Linked DNA regions of Homo sapiens: region 2 is linked to region 1. The links are contacts of gene promoters, found by promoter capture Hi-C in human tissues and cell types (Jung and others, 2019). All regions are on one chromosome and are shown on one strand. The core of a region is centred on a gene start or on the middle of the fragment in contact, and the rest is flanking DNA. Distances in the headings are between cores, read along the strand shown. Region 1 overlaps APBA3 (amyloid beta precursor protein binding family A member 3). Region 2 holds the start of MAP2K2 (mitogen-activated protein kinase kinase 2).

Region 1 (5,288 bases), core at 199-2,698:
CACGCAGCCAGGGGCAGCCCCACCAGGCTGGTCCCGTTGATGGCGGTCAGGCGGTCCCCGATGCTGAGGGCCCCCGAGCGCTCAGCAGGCCCCCCGTGCAGCAGGTTGGCGATGACGGCTGTGGGCAGCAGGGAGCCCCAGCCCGACTCCACCAGGGCCACGCCCAGGCCCTCCCCTCGCCGCTTCTCGAGGTGCACCTGGGACACACAGGGGGCGCGGAGGCTGCTCAGCAGGGCCCGGTGCAGGTGCACGGGTGTGGGGGGCACCAGGTGGGGGCTGCCCAGCACCTCACTCACCTCCCGGCAGTTGTCACTGTTGGAGAAGTGGTCCAGGTCCCCATTATGGAGGTGGCAGGCGCCTGGGCTCGGGTGCACGCCCACCTGGCTGGGGTCAATACCGCTTTCCCGTAGGAACTGGCTGTAGGCGGCGGCGAAGGCCTGGCCAATGGCCTGGGCGATGAGCTGGGCCTGCGGGGAGGAGTGGCGCGTCCCTGGGGTGTCCCACCCACCTCCTCCAGGTCCCCAAAGTCCCCAGGGTCCTCAGAGCTGAGCCCTCCTGTCCCCACCTGGGGTGAGAGTCCCAGGACACAGCCTTCTGCCCTGGGGCTTTGGGGGAGGTGGAGAGACAGCCGCATCTTGGGGAATCTACGGGGAGAAGGAAGGGGAGGGGCAGCCCTGGGCTGGGGGGACGATGAGGGAGGCAGCTCCCTGCGCATGGGCTGTGGGAAAAGCTATCAAAGACCCAGCCAGGGGGCCTGGGGCCTCATGGGTGGCAGGGACAGCCCAGGAGCGGGCAAGGTTTCGGGGAGTCGGCCGAGAGTCTTGGAGTCTTATAGGAGGCTGGACGCGGTGGCTCACGCCTGTAATTGCAGCACTTTGGGAGGCTGAGGTGGGTGGATCGCTTGAGCCCAGGAGTTTGAGACCGTGTTCACCTGGGCAACAGAGCGAGACCGTGTCTCTATAAAAAATACAAAAATTAGCCAGGCATGGTGATACCCCGGTGGTCCCAGCTACTAGAGAGGCTGAAGTGGGAGGATCGCTTGAGCCTGGAAGGTTGAGGCTGCAGTGAACTATGATTGCGCCACTGCACTCCAGCCTGGGTGACAGAAGGAGACCTTGTCCCAAAAAAAGAATTTAAAAATAAGCTTATGGGAGGGAGGTTAAATGCACGGCCCACTGAGGGAGGCGACAGTTGCAGTGAGGAGGGCCTCAGGAGGGTGGCCCCGCGCCCTGGCTGCTCACGTCCTCCGCGTAGAATACGTGGCAGAGCATCTTGTAGAGGCGGCGGCCGTGGTCCTGGGGTGCCGGCCTCCGTGCCAGCCGCCGCCGCGCCATCAGCACCAGCACGCAGCCGATGTCGGCTGTGTAGGAGATGGTATGCAGGGCGTGGTCCATCATGGCCTCCTGGGGCGGGAGAGGCAGCCTGGGTGGGTTGGGGGGCCGTGCCAGGCTCGATCACCCCACCCGCATCCCTGGGGCGGGTCCCTGCCCCGTACCTGGGAGTCCGCTGTCAAGACCTTGATCCTCTTGGTGGAGACGAACAGGTCCACCTCCGTCATGGGCTGGGTCTCCCCATCGGGGGCCTGTGGGTGGCGGCGTGGGAGGTGGAGGCCCCCACAGACCCAGCCTGCAGCCCACCCGCCTGCCCGCCCGGCCCCGGCCGCCCCCTCACCTTGACGCGGTCCATGGCCTCCCGGGCCTGGGCCATGCGCGTGCTGGTGGGCGGGTTCCGTTCCGACACCAGCTGGGTGGACCCCAGGTACCTGGCCCCAAATATGACACCGTCCAGGAGGTCTTCATGGTCACAGGGACCAGGCACTGAGGGCGACAGCGAAGAGGGTCGGCCCCCAGGGGCCCACTCCCACAGGCTCTGCCCCAGGGCTACGCTCTCCGAGATGGCCGGGAGACACAGTGTTCTAGCTGGTGGCTTAGCACTCTCCAGCCAGGAAGCACAGCCCACTGTTCTAGAACCATCCAAGCAGCCTGGCCCTCACAGGTCTAGAACCTTCTGTCCATCCCTCAAGGACTCGCAGGTGGGAAACCAGTGAGTCCAGGCCATGGCTGGATTCAAAGCCAGATCTAGCACCCACAGATACCTTCACCCCGTGTCCCCAGAATTCCATGATCAGGCCGGAACCAGACAGTCCCACTCCTGCTTTTTTGAGACACGGTCTCGCTCTGTCGCCCAGGCTGGAGCTCGGTGGTGTGATCTCAGCTCACTGCAACCTCCGCTTCCTGGGTTCAAACGATTCTCCTGCCTCAGTCTCATGAGTAGCTGGGATTACAGGCGCCCACCACCACGCCTGGCTAGTTTTTGTATTTTTAGTAGAGACGGGGTTTCGCCACGTTGGCCAGGCTGGTCTCAAACTCCCGACCTCAAGTGATCCACCCGCCTTGGCCTCCTAAAGTACTGGGATGACAGGCGTGAGCCACGACGCTCCACCCCCCACTCCAATTTCGAAACCTCCACAACATTCTAGAACCACAGTGGACCCCTGCTTCTTGGTTCTGGAATTCCCTCCATCAATCTAGAACTGGCCAGCTCTGCCCACTGTTCTAGAACCGTCTGCAGTCAGCCCAGGATAGCAGGCAGCTCTGTTCCCGGGTTGTAGAACCACTCAGAACAGAGACAGACCCTGCTGCCTGTCTAAAATTCCCATACTCTCCAGAACCCCAGCTGGTTCTGACCCTTGATTCCAGAACTCTCTGACAGGTCTCATAGCAATTCTGTCAGGAGTTTTAGAATCTTATTATCACTCTAGAATCAGACTTCTCTGCTCCGTGATTCCAGAACATCTTAATCACAATCGCGTCAGGCAGCTCTTCCTGTGGTTCTAGAATCTCCTTCAGTAGTTCACACCTTTGGCTACACCAGGGATTCTAAGAATTACCTGACCAGTCAAGGAACAAACAATTCTGTTCCAGGAGAATTCTAGACAGTTCCAGAATACTCCCAACCCAGCCCAGAACTACATAAAGCTTTACTCCTGGCTGGGTGCGGTGGCTCACGTCTGTAACCCCAGCACTTTAGGAGGCCGGGGGGGGGGGGTGGATCACCTGAGGTCAGGAGTTCGAGACCTGCCTGGCCAACATGGCGAAACCCCGTCTCTACTAAAAATACAAAATTAGCTGGGCGTGGTGGCGCGTGCCTATAATCCCAGCTACTTGAAAGCTGAGGCGGGAGAATCACTTGAACCCAGGAGGTGGAGGTTGCAGTGAGCCGAGAGAGATCGCACCACTGCACACCAGCCTGGGTGACAGAGCAAGATTCCATCTCCAAAAACAAAAAGGAAAAAAAAAAAAAAGCTTTACTCTCATGGTTCTAGAATTCCCTGAGCTACCCAGAGCCAGACAGCTCTGCCAGTGGCCCTAGAACATTCTAACCAGTAACTACGGCTCTTTGGTTTAGAACCACGGGTGTAGGGCCCCGTTCTGGACACCACTAAGTGAAATTCACCCTACACCACAGTCGGTTCTGCCCACTATCCTTCAGGATCTAAGCATTCTGGAACAAGAGCTCCACTCTGGGGTTCTAGAGAGATACGTCATTCACTGTGGTAGCCACCAGGCACATGTATCTATCACAGACTTGAAATGTGGCTCGACTGAATAGAGATGTAAATAGAAAATACACACTAGATATTGAAGATTTGGTATGAAAAAAAGTAATTTAAGGTCAGGCATGGTGGTTCACGCCTGTAATCCCAGCACTTTGGGAGGCAGAGGCGGGCGGATCACCTGAGGTCAGGAGTTTGAGACCAGCCTGGCCAACATGGTGAAACCCCGTCTCTACTAAAAATACCAAAATTAGCTGGGCATGGTGGCAGGCGCCTGTAATCCCAGCTACTCGGGAGGCTAAGGAAGGAGAATCACTTGAACCCAGGAGGCAGAGGTTGCAGTGAGCCAAGATTGCGCCATTGCACTCCAGCCTGGGCAACAAGGTGAGACTGTGTCTCAAAAAAATAAAAAAGTAAATTAAAAATATTGATTGTATGTTGAAATAATATTTTAAATATGTTAGCTTAATTAAAATGTTATTAAAGTTAATTTCTTAGCCAGGTATGGTGGCGTATGCCTATAGTTCCAGTTACTCAGGAGGCTGAGGCGAGAGAATCGCTTGAAGCTGGGAGGCGGAGGTTGCGGTGAGCTGAGATCGTGCCACTGCACTGCAGCCTGGGCGACAGAGCGAGACTCCGTCTCAGTTTAAAAAAAAAAAAAGTTATTTCACCTGTTTTTAATTTTTTAACGTGGATAACTACAAAATTTTAAATCACATATGGCTCACGTTGTATTTCTATTGTAGTTCCATCTAGAACTTTCTGATTACACTATAATTGGACAGCTCTGCCCAGGGTTATAGAACACTAGATAACTATTCCCTCCATGGTTCTAGAATTCTCCAGTCTGAGTAGAACCAGATGCCTCTGTTCACCAATTCTGAGCATTCTCATCAGCCCAGATTCCTTTACCCTAGAAACAGACAAAATGCCAAGCCCTGGAACTCCCTAGGTGTCACAGCTCTGCTCGATTCTAGAACCTTCTTAGAGCTATAGGTTCAAACCAGTTTTTCTCTCTGCAACCACAGAACTGTTTTTTTTTTTCTTTTTTTTGAGACATGGTCTCACTGTCACCCAGGCTGGAGTGCAGTGGCACAATCTTAGCTCACTGCAGCCTCAAGTGATCCTCCCACCTCAGCCTCCCAAGTAGCTGGGATTATAGACCCATGCCACGTGCCTGGCTAATTTTGGGGGGGGATTTTATTTTTGTGGAGACAGGGTTTTGCTGTGTGGCCCAGGCTGGTCTCGAACTCCTGGGCTCAAGCGATCCTCCCACATCAGCCTTTCAAAGTGTTGGGATTACAGATGTGAGCCACCCTTCCCGGCCAGAACTTACTATCTGACCTATATCCTTAGCGAAGTGTAGAACAGAGGCTGGCCGCGGTGGCTCACACCTGTAATCCCAGCATTTTGGGAGGCCGAGGCGGGTGGATCACAAGGTCAGGAGTTTGAGACCAGCCTGACCAAGACGGTGAAACGCCGTCTCTACTAAAAATATAAAAATTAGCTGGGCACGGTGGCGGACGCTTGTAATCTCAGCTACTCAGGAGGCTGAAGCAGGAGAATCACTTGAATCCGGGCGGCAGAGGTTGAAGTGAGCTGAGATTGCACCACTGAAAAAAAAAGTCTAGAACATTCCAGAGGGCCAGAAATTGTTCTTCCCATGCTTTTAGGGCAGGGCTTGGCAAACATTTTCTGTAAAGGGCCAAAGAGTAAATATTTTCAGCCTTGT
Region 2 (5,459 bases), core at 2,090-4,589, 370 kb after region 1:
CCTCTCCTGGGGGAATCCTTCAAGAGATGGGAATCAAACCCCACACGGAAGAGAAATGTGAAGGGCGAGTTCTGTGCAGAGAATGAGGAACGGGTCCCCGTGTCTGGCTGTGCCCGTGTTGACTTGCACACATTGGCATCAAGAGTCTTCATCTGGGTCACAGAAGGCCGACCCCCAAGCGGGAGAGGCCACCAGACATGCCACAGTCCCTGACACCTGGTTCTTGAGGGGTCACACCGCAGGCACGGCACCCGGACCCCAGCCAAGGGCCCCGGGGATCGCCCTGCCCTGCCTCGGCCTGCAGAACGGGAGTGCAGAGATCACCCTGGCATGACCCCACCAGTGTGTGCCCCCAACACCCAGTCCCCTCCCTCGTCCTGGAGCAGTGCGATTCTGCCAGCACGCCACCCGGACCCCAGCATACCCCTTTCTCAGATCCCTTCACCCAGGCCTCTGGTCGCCCTCCACCTCCTCAAAGCTTCTGCACTGGGTCAGCCCCTCACAAGGGTTTTCCGGTCCACTCACTTCAGAATCTGCACCTCTGCTTTCAGGGGCCAGCAGGGTCCCCTGATCCCCACGCCTCCTCGTTCCTCACACTCTGGCTTCCCTGTCTCCTCACACTTCCAGCTTCAGGGACTCCACACACTGGGCACCGCCACAAGCAGGAGATGCCCTCTCAGAGATGCCCATCTTGACATCTTGACCTCCCTGGGACCCCATCCTGACCCCCTCAGAACCCCAACATGAGACCCCTAGGACCCCCTGCTCTGCCCTCCCAGAACCCCCACAACATGACCCCCCGAGGACCCCCTAACCTGACCCCCCCAGAATCCCCCAACATGACCCCCGAGGACCCAACCTGACCCCCCCCACAACATGAACCCCCTGGAACCCCTGTCCTGATCCCACTAGACCTCCCCCAGCAGAAACCCCTCCATCTGGAACCCGCTAGAACTCCCATCCTGACCCCGCTAAAGCCCCCCCATGTCCTGACACCCCTAAGACACCCCCTTGTCCTCAGATACCCCAGAACTCCCACCCTGACCCCCCCAAAGTCCCCCGATCCTGACCTTTCTAGGGTCTCCCACCCCATCGTGACCCCCTAGGACACCCCTCTCCCACATCCTGACCCTTCTGGGAGCCCCCTGTCCTCCCCTCTCTTCCCTTTTCCCTGGTTGTCTATGGACCTCCTCACCCCATCCTCTCCCCTAAGGGACCCCCCTGCCCCACCTTGGCACCCTAGGTGCCCTCTTCATCCCATGCCAACCTCATTACTCAGGGACTCATTCCCCAAAAGGACCGCTCCCCGCCCCCCCAAGACCTCTCAGCCTGTCCTCCCCACCCAGGTGCTGCACTCTCAACCTGTGGCTCAGGCACCCTCCCACCCCATCTCTCCCCCATAGGAACCCTCCCACCCCATCTCTCCCCCATAGGGACCCTCCCACCCCATCTCTCCCCCATAGGGACCCTCCCACCCCATCTCTCCCCCATAGGGACCCTCCCACCCCATCTCTCCCCCACAGGGACCCCCTCACCCCATCTCTCCCCCATAGGGACCCCCTCACCCCATCTCTCCCCCATAGGGACCCTCCCACCCCATCTCTCCCCCATAGGGACCCCCTCACCCCATCTCTCCCCCATAGGAACCCTCCCACCCCATCTTTCCCCCATAGGGACCCCCTCACCCCATCTCTCCCCCAAGGGACTCGCTTCACTATCATTTCAATATGCAGAACACCCCTTGCCTATCCTTCCCCCACAGGCCCCCACCGACACATCCTCTCCTCCCAGGGACCCCCTCAACCCCATCTCACAATTCAGGGGCCCTGCACCCCATCTTCTCTCTGCAAGGACATCTCCTTGGCCTGATCTCACGACTTAGGGATTCCAAACCCCATCTTTTCCCCAAAGGGATCTCCCCTCACTCCAATCTCATTACTCAGGGACCCCACCATCTCCCCGATTTCACTATTCAGGGACCGTTCACCCCATTTCACTACTCAGAGACCTACCACCATTCTGCTACTCAGTGACTCCATGCCCTGTCTTTTCCCACAGGGACCTCCCTTGGCCCTATCTCATTATTGAGGGACCCTTACCCCGTCTTTTCCTACCAGGGACCCTACCCCATCTCAGTCTCATTACTCAGGGACCCCTCACCCCATCCTCTCCCCTCTGGAGCCCCCTTGCCCAGATTTCCTCCTCAGGGGCTGCCTGACCTCCCCACACCCCATCCTCTCCTCTCAGGAATGCCCTGCACCCCGATTTCCCTACTCAGGGTCTCCCCTCACCCTCATCTCATGACTACGGCAACCTTTACTCCGTCCTTTCCTCTTAGGAACTCTTCACCCTCATTTCACTACTCAAGGACCCCACACTGTGTTCTCTCCTCTTAGAGATACCCCTCACCCCGATCTCACTGCTTGGGGAGCCTCATCCTGTTCTCTCCTTGGGGACACCCCTCATTCCGATTTTCCTACTGAGGGACTCCCCTCACCCCAGCTTCACTTTTCAGAAGCCCCACACCCCATCTTCTGCACTGCAGGGACCTCCCCTCACTCAACCTCGCTGCTCAGGGACCCCTGTCCCCATCCTCTCCTCTTAGAGACATCCTTCACCCCAACTTCACTACTCAGAGACTCCCGTTATCCCAATTCCACTCTTCAGGAACCCCACACCCCATCTTTTCCACCACAAGGACCTCCCCTCGCCCAATCTCACTGCTCAAAGACCCCCCTGCCCCGTGCACCCTTCGCCCCGTCCTCCGAGGGCCCCCTGCCCCGTCCTCCCCCGAGGGCCCCCTGCCCCGTCCTCCCCCGAGGGTCCCCTGCCCTGTCCTCCCCTCGAGAACCCCCTGCCCCGTGCACCACTCACCCCGTCCTCCCCCGTGACCCCCCTGCCTCGTGCACTCCTCGCGAACCCCCGTCCCCTCGCCCCGTCCTTCCCCGAGGGCTCCCTGCCCCGTGCACCCCAAGCCTCCGGCTGACCCCTGCCCACTCACTCGGAGGCGCCCTCGCTGGTAGGGGATGGGCCCTCGGCGATGGTAGGGTTGATGGTGAGCGCCGGCAGCACCGGCTTCCTCCGGGCCAGCATCGGGGCTCCGCGGGCCGGCGGCGGCGGCGCCTCTAGCCGGGGCCCATAGGGGGCGGGCCGGGAGCGGTCGGCGCCTACGCGAGCCCGGGGCTGCGGCCGCGGCCCAGGCCGGCGTCGGGGCGGCCGAGGGCGGGCGGCGCTGCGGGCCTGGGCCGAGGGTAGCCGAGGGGCGCTGGGGCTGAGGCGAGCGAGCCGCTACCGCTGCCGAGGCCCGAAGAAGGCTGACGCCGCAGCCCGAGTCCGAGAGGCAGGGGGAGGGGAGGGGCGGCCACAAGATCGCGGACCGGCTTCTCGCGATAACGGGATCGGGAGCCGCGATGGACCCCACCCCCAGCCGCCGCGCCTGCGCAGCAGCACAAGGCCGCCTTTCGGAGGGGAAAGGGGCGGAGACCGACGCGAGGCGGTGCCGGGACCGGGCGCCCTCGCTTGCCTTACCACGGCGCGTGTGCCCAAGCGCTTGGGGCATGAGGCGCGGGAGCAGGGGAGGAGACGGAGGGATGAAGGCTGGGGTGATGGTCGTGCACAGGTGGGCAGGGTAGCCAGACTCCTGAGAGCCTGTGGTGCCCCAGGCTGGGGCTGAGAGAACCCGTAAGACCCCAGAACAGTGGACGAGACCCACCCAGAGTCCATTTAATCTTTTTGGCAAGCGTGGACACACGCCCCTAGCCCCCACCGCCTTAGAGTGTCAGTTACTCCCCCTCCTTCATCAGAACAAGGCCACTCTAAAACATTTTTAAAATTTATTTTAATTGACAAATAAAATTGCATATATTACTATGCGCATGTTGAAACATTTTTATTATAAAATACACATAACATAAAACTTGTCATTTTAACCATTTCTAAATGCACAGCTCAGCGGCATTAAGCAACCACCACCACCACCATCTCCAGAATTTTCTCATCTTCCGAAACTGAAACACTGTCCCCTATGAAACCTCACTCCCTATCCCCCTCCCCAGCCCCTGGAACCCAACGTCGTACTTCCTGTGAATCTGATGATTCTAGGGACTTCATATGAGTAGGATCACACAGGTTTTGTCCCTTTGTGGCTGGCATATTTCACTGAGGGCCACGTCCTCAAGGTGCCTGTTGTAGCTGTGTTAGATCCACGTTGTAACCTGTGTTAGAATTTACCCACTTGACTACTCCGGGCATACTTCCAATCGGGTAGCCCTGCTCCAAAAAAGAGCAGAAAAAAAAAAAAAAAGAAAAATTTCCCTTTTTTTTTTTTTGAGACGGAGTCTCGCTCTGTCACCCAGGCTGGAGTGCAGTGGTGCGATCTCGGCCCACTGCAAACTCTGCCTCCCGGGTTCACGCCATTCTCCTGCCTCAGCCTCCCGAGTAGCTGGGACTACAGGTGCCCACCACCATGCCCGGCTAATTTTTTTGTATTTTTAGTAGAGACGGGGTTTCACCGTGTTAGCCAGGATGGTCTCCATCTCCTGACCTCGTGATCCACCCGCCTCGATCTCCCAAAGTGCTGGGATTACAGGCGTGAGCCACCGCACCCAGTCAGGATTTTCCTCCTTTTTAAGGCTGAATAATATTCTATTGTGTGCATGGACTATATTTTGCTTATCCATTTATCTGCCACTAGACACTTCGGTGAATCGTGCCGCTATGAACACAGATGTACAAATATCTGTTTGAGTCCTTGCCTTGAGTTCTTTTGGGTATATGTTCTGAAGAGGAATTACTGGATTATATGGTAATTCTATGTTGAACTTTTTGAAGCACCACCTTACTATTTAATACAATAGCCGTACCACTTTATAAGAAAGGTCATAGGCTGGGCGCGGTGGCTCACGCCTGTAATCCCAGCACTTTGGGAGGTCGAGGCGGGTGGATCACCTGAGGTCAGGAGTTGAAGACGAGTCTGGCCAACATGGTGAAACCCCGTCTCTACTAAAACAAAAAAATACAAAAATTAGCCGGGCATGGTGGCGCGTGCCTGTAATCCCAGCTACTCGCGAGGTTGAGGCAGAAGAATTGCTTGAACCCGGGAGGCAGAGGTTGCAGTGAGCCAAGATCACGCCATTGCACTCCAGCTTGGGAGACAAGAGCGAGACTTCGTCTCAAAAAAATCAAACAAACAAACAAACAAACAAATAAATAAATAAAATACAAAAATTAGCCAGGCCTGGCGGTGTGTGCCTATAGTCTCAGCTACTCAGGCGGCTGAGGCAGGAGAATCGCTTGAACCCGGGGGGCAGACGTTGCAGTGAGCCAAGATTGCACCACTGCCCTCCAGCCTGGGCGACAAAGTAAGACTCCGTCTCCAATAAAACAGAACAAAAAAAAATTTAATTTTTTGCCAGGTGCCGTGGCTCACACCTGTAATCCCAGGACCCTGGGAAGCTGAG

The links. The method cuts DNA at HindIII sites, captures the fragments that hold promoters and counts their contacts. A contact is called where the count stands out against the background at its distance.
Region 2: a contact is called between the fragment with the promoter of MAP2K2 here and a fragment that was not itself captured in region 1, in 2 of the 25 tissues and cell types used here (dorsolateral prefrontal cortex and spleen).

The regions. Positions count from the first base shown.
Region 1 is chr19:3,752,524-3,757,811 of GRCh38, forward strand. It overlaps APBA3 (amyloid beta precursor protein binding family A member 3), which reads right to left. Exons shown (of 11, transcript NM_004886.4): 4 at 1,672-1,817; 5 at 1,496-1,582; 6 at 1,242-1,403; 7 at 297-467; 8 at 1-197. Among named protein-coding and RNA genes, the nearest start is that of APBA3, 6.5 kb to the right of the region's middle. The HindIII fragment of the contact is 3,385 bases long and covers 1-3,141 here.
Region 2 is chr19:4,120,783-4,126,241 of GRCh38, forward strand. MAP2K2 (mitogen-activated protein kinase kinase 2) reads right to left here and starts at 3,340. Exons shown (of 11, transcript NM_030662.4): 1 at 3,002-3,340. The coding sequence starts at 3,093. RefSeq lists silencers at 2,933-3,182, 3,373-3,492. The HindIII fragment of the contact is 9,633 bases long and covers 1-5,459 here.